2 separate regions of the Homo sapiens genome follow, and region 1 is linked to region 2. The links are contacts of gene promoters, found by promoter capture Hi-C in human tissues and cell types (Jung and others, 2019). All regions are on one chromosome and are shown on one strand. Each heading gives the region's core, a stretch centred on a gene start or on the middle of the fragment in contact. The rest is flanking DNA. Distances are from core to core; before and after follow the strand shown. Region 1 overlaps LOC105378237 (a long non-coding RNA gene). Region 2 holds the start of GLRA1 (glycine receptor alpha 1).

Evidence for each region. Contacts are between HindIII fragments. The study calls those that stand out against the background at their distance.
Region 1: a fragment that was not itself captured here is called in contact with the fragment with the promoter of GLRA1 in region 2 in 1 of the 25 tissues and cell types used here (H1 embryonic stem cells).

Annotation. Positions count from the first base shown.
Region 1 is chr5:152,348,956-152,351,910 of GRCh38, reverse strand. The region is part of intron 1 of LOC105378237 (a long non-coding RNA gene); the gene reads right to left. Among named protein-coding and RNA genes, the nearest start is that of NMUR2, 55 kb to the left of the region's middle. RefSeq lists a cis regulatory region at 1,217, an enhancer at 1,133-1,302 and a silencer at 1,975-2,074. The HindIII fragment of the contact is 3,466 bases long and covers 1-2,955 here.
Region 2 is chr5:151,923,454-151,926,153 of GRCh38, reverse strand. GLRA1 (glycine receptor alpha 1) reads left to right here and starts at 1,303. Exons shown (of 9, transcript NM_000171.4): 1 at 1,303-1,660. The coding sequence starts at 1,605. RefSeq lists a silencer at 811-1,023. The HindIII fragment of the contact is 3,327 bases long and covers 1-2,498 here.

The sequences.
Region 1 (2,955 bases), core at 281-2,780, 430 kb before region 2:
AGATACATGGTGATATGTGAAGAAGGACAAACCCTAGGCAAGAGGAGGAGGGATATTGACTAATCAATATGACCAAGCAAAGTAATGGTGCAGCTCCTACATAGCTCTGAATTAAAGTAAATGGGAATCAATGGGCTAAAAACCAAGGATTCAATAAAGCCATTAAGTCATGGCAATTCCTTTTGAGGCAAATTCATTCCTTCATGGCTCTGTCCCCTGTTCCTACCAAAAGTCAATACTCTCCTGGCAAGGGATTTGGGGGATGTGGCTCCCAATAAAGACTTTGTCACTATTTCACTCCACCTGTTTATCCCTAGGAGAGGGATTTCTTTGCTTCTGGCTTTTTTCCATCAGTATGTTGGTTTTGCTTCAACCCGTAAGTTAACTGATTTGTGTTTCAAGGGAAACAAAACCTAATCTCATCTGCTGACACCTGACAAGGGGCCAGGTCTCTCAGTGGTTAGTGCTGCTGTTGAAACCTTCCCAGGGAGCTATATCGAGTCACAGTGTGTCCCTCACACATGAACACATTAGCAAGGCACTCTGTGACAGGTGCTATGTTAAGAATATCCTATGTATTGTCCTATTTAACTCTTACCACAACCCCACAAGATTCATTTTATGGATTGGGAAACTGAGTCTTGAATGGTTTAGTAACTCCTAATGTCTCCTGACTCCAAAGCCTGCCTAATGACCACTAGACTCAGCAGTGTCCACATGCCTCCCTAACTAAAACCCTCCAAGTCTCCAGGAAATGAGTGAGTTGCCAATGACCCTTCCAAAGCAGCCACCCACACCCCACAGCAGTTAGAGAGGATTTCTGAGCACATTGGGCACACACAAAATAGTCTCCCAGGTATAAAGTCTTATGTTGAGAGGGGCACTGGCCAACAGACGTCCACAGTTGCTGAGCTCCTTTTTTTTTTTTTTCTGAGATGGAGTCTCGCTCTGTCACCCAGGCTGGAGTGCAGTGGCATGATCTTGGCTCACTGCAACCTCCACCTCCCGGGTTCAAGCAATTCTCCTACCTCAGCCTCCCAAGTAGCTGGGATTACAGGTGCATGTAACAACCACATCTGACTAATTTTTGTGTTTTTAGTAGAGACAGGGTTTCGACATGTTCGCCAGGCTGGTCTCAAACTCCTGCCCACCTCAGCCTCCCAGATGATCTGCCCACCTCAACCTCCCAAAGTGCTGGGATTACAGGCGTGAGCCACCGCACCCAGCCAACAGTCCCTGAGCTCTTATCAGCCAGAACGCTCACCAGCATACAGCCGGGTTAGGAGACAGGAAGAGAATGATTCTGGTGAGTGTGTGCTAAAGACTAACAACTTCGATTTGCTTGAAGGAGAACACACATGCTATGTATTAAGGTAAATGAAAGCTATTGCTTTGGATTCAAAGAACCTGGGCCCTAATTTCCAGCTCTTCCACTTCAGCTATGTGACCTCGGGCAGTTTTGACCTTGCTGAGACTGAATTCTCATTTGCAAATTGGAGGTGTTTATCTTGCACAGTGGTGGCTATGAAGAGTGAATGAGATATTTCACATAAGAGCATTTATCATGTGCCTGGCACAGAGTGAATCTTAAATCGTAGCTGCCATTATTTCCCAAAACCAGATGACTGCTTTGCCAATAAACAACCTACATGCTGCTTTAGACATGCCTGACAAATGTTAGAGCCTGTGTTTACATAGACCGGTGCGCACACAAACCCGGGTGTTCTTTCCTGCTAACCAGTGTGTAGCCTAGTTTACATAGCAGCCTCTCTGAACCTCATAGAGATAACAATATTGGCTACTGCATAAGTGTGTGGTCTGGAATGTTAAAAAGGGAGAGGCCTTCGTGAAAGCCTGCCAATTTTATAGCTTTGATCACCCATTATAATGCTTTCTTTGCCCAGAGTTTTAGACTTCATCATTTTTTCTGTCCCAATACTGCAAAATATGTTGATCAGGAATTAATGCAGTGCAATAGAACTCTGCAGGGCATGCAGCTAGCACCAAAGAAGCCAAGACTTACAGCTCGTGGCACTTGGAGCCACTGGCCACTAGGGGCCGTTGGTAAGCCACAGAAAGCTGGAAGGATGCCTACCTGTCAGGTTTTTAAAAATCACATTTCTTATACAAAAAGCTTTCTGGACTCTCAAAAATCCAGCTCAGGGTCCTTTTGCAGGGAGGGATGGCTTTATTTTCTATAAAGGCTTTAGTCCCATTTCTTTCTGGGACTGAAGAAAAGGGAAGATGAGTCTTAACGAGCTCTGACCTAGTCAGTGAGGCACATGGTTGGTTGGCTGGGGTGGGGTTGGTGGGACTTGTGTGGCAGTATTTGCACAATCCTGAGAGATCCTCCACCTGCAAGAATTCCCCCAATACCCAGTGACTGAAATCTCTTTATGTCTTATTAACACTATGAACTTCTAAAGCCCGGTGATAAATACAGATATTCAGGATGGGACCATGTGTCAGACCACGATTAGATGCGCGATACAGGAAAAGGAGTCAGTGCACACCAAAGAAAAGCATGCAAAGATAGAGCTCCTAAAAGTGGGTTTGAATTCTAGCTTAGCCACTTATTAGCTGTGAAAACTTGGGCAAGTTACTTAATCCCTCTAAGCTTCCATTTCCTTTGAAACCCCTATATCATAGGTTTGTTGCATGGGTTTAAATGAGAATGTATACAAAATTGTACACACATAGAAAGTCTAAGCAATTTTTATTAGTTGTTATTCTTCTTTTGTTGAGTGAAAGTAAGACTGGAATTCAAGGCTAGAGAGCAGACATGCTGTCAGGCAGTTGGGGTTGAGGAAGCAAAATGAGGGTACAAGGAAAGTTTAAAACGGGGATCCCCAAACCCCAGGCCACGGACGGACTGGTACCAGTCCATGACCTGTTAGGAAGTGGGCTGCACAGCAGGAGGTGAGCGGCAGGTGAGCGAGCATTACCGCCTGAGCT
Region 2 (2,700 bases), core at 54-2,553:
CAACTTGGCTCTGCCATCAATTTGGAGCAAGCCACAGCTCTGTGAGGCTCAGTTTCCCCAGCATATAAAAGGCGAATAAAACTGTCTCCTGTCCAGTTGGAAGAAGGTGCTTTTATTCCCTCTCAAAAGGGTGCCAGCCACAACACCTCCCACTCAACGCTGGAAACTGCTCAAAGAATTTCTCTCGTATTTCCCTGCTGCGGTGACCCTGGAGGGGGTCTTTATCCACCAGACTTCTTTTTGGATATTCCTCCTTTCTTTCTAGGGCCAAATATTATAACTTCAGAGCTCTTTTAAAAAAAATCAGGGATCTGGTTCAACTCTTCCCTTTTAAAAGGATAAATTGAGCCCAGAGCACGTCTTAACAAGGAACCATGTGTTTTACTCACATACAACTGCATTCTTTAAAAATCAAGGCAACCTTTTGAGAGACCTAGAGAGATTAATTCCATATCCTCTCTCACCCCACCGCTTACACGGAAAGAAGCTTGGGGGTAGGAAGGGGATTGCGCAGATCTCGTCCAGCACTCTAAGCGTTAAATTCAACCCGGAGTCTAACAGGCTATTGGCCGAATACCGGGAGAAGATCTGGTTTTCGTAGCCGCGGGCCAATGAACACCTCGAGTGGGAGGGTTTGAAGATACTAAGGAGTTTTCCCCCTTTTTTTTTCCCCCTCAACCCCCTCCCATCGGCTATCACCCCTCCCATCCCCCACGCCTCCAGTTTGTTAAATTAATGCAGTAAGAAAGTCTGAAGATCTGAAGGAGTCTTGACCAAGGGAAGATGAGCGAGCTCAGAAAACCGAGATGCATCTGAGACATTGGGCTTCAGAGCCCCGCGGGGTAGCCAGGGACCCCGGTAGCCCCTGAAACTTGCCCTGGGCTCTCTGACGCCTGCGGCCCCGAGCAATGGGACACCTTTTCTGCAGTGATCACAACTTATTCGGCGGGGACCGGGAAACAGGAATAGCAAGGCGACAGCAGACCCGCACAGAGGCAGGAGAACGAGATTCCGAGACTGGATTGCGATGCGCCAGCCTGGCACACTCTCCGAGATTTAACTGAAGGCAGCGCCGTCAACCGCTTTCCCCTCGCCCCTAACCCCCTCAGGCCGGCCCAGAGCCATAAAGCTCTGTTCTCTTTACCCAAGATGCTCGCCCAATCCAACGGTCCGAGGCCAGCGCTCTGATCTCCACAGAAGATTTTTTTCCTTGCAGGGAGCTGGCCGTTTAAACAGAAAAACAGGGGTTTAAAAAAAAAAAAAAAAAAAAGGAAATATACCCACCCCCAAACGTGCCTCCCCAGCGCCGCAGGGAGCCAACAGACACGCTGGAGTTTAACAAACAGCAATACTCTTCGCGCTCCTGAAAAGCAGGTCTGGACGCTCTCCGTGGTGCTGAAACGCCTCGCAGCCGCCGCTGTCCGTGGTATCTACGACCCCCTCGCTCCAATTTCCCCTGGGGCTCTCCCTCCGCGCCCCTGTTCCCCGCCTCCCTTTAACATCTGGATTATTTTTTGCAATAGCGCTTTCTGGTTTTGTAAGTGCCAATTTGAAACATTTTTGCCCCCATAACTCGTGGACTACAAAGCACAAGGACCTGAAAAATGTACAGCTTCAATACTCTTCGACTCTACCTTTGGGAGACCATTGTATTCTTCAGGTATGCAATTTTCTACTGACCACATCGCTCTGATGGAAATGGGGGGAAAGAGTACGGAGGCTACCTCTGTCCGTGGTCCCATCATTTTGGGGAAGAGGGGTGCTGTATTCCACTGCAATCGGGTCCTTCCATCCCCCGTCTCCCTTCTCCCCCCTCCCACCCCCCGCCACCCACCCCACCCCCGCCCGCAGGGTGTCTGGCTTGTGCGTGGAGGTCTGAGACAGTCGCTGTTCTGGCAGCTGTTTGCCTGTTTCTTACGGTTTGTTTGTCCTTCTGTCTGCTACACCCCCCACTATTGGTCCCCAGCCCCACTGCATGTTGGCTTTCACTCGGCTGAGGACTTTAAAGGGAAGCTTTAGGAGTTACTCAGTTTAATTAGGACTGCATTCTCCCTAACCGCAGTGCCGAAAACCTCAGCTTTCCCGTCTGGGAGCCAAGTGACAACTAGCGGTGACGGGGAAGGTTGCACTCAAACTCGCTGGACACAGATCATTTCATTTTCTGTCCTTTTTTGCTGTTGTTTTCTTTTTCTGCGAAGAGGGAGGGGGATTACTAAGGCTGAGTGCTTGGAAACAATAGTATTATAACCTCAGTGTGTAAAGCCCTGAACTTGGGTGCAGAGTGGATCTATTTAGGAACATACTGGGAAACATTTCCCTTTTGAAACTTTGACTGCCTCTTTCCCCAACCCACCTTTCCAAACTCTGTTAGCTGCAGATCCTGAACTCATGAGCAATCTTCATTTGCTTTGTTTTTAAATTTATGCTTATATTTGACTCAACAGCTGAGTTATCCCATCCACTGTCTCTCAGGTTAAAATTTTCTGCCTGAAGACTTGTCTTTCTTATGTTAGTAGAAGTGAAAAGTGAAAAATCACCTCTTTAAGAAGCATTGAAATAGATAGTCCTTTAGTAAGTGTGTGAATCATACCATCTTCAGAGATGGCTATGATAAATTCCACTTATATGAATTGAAAAACATTATTCTTCTTCCATGACATGCAGGGATCATTAATCTTCCTCATTTTAGATGCCTGCCTC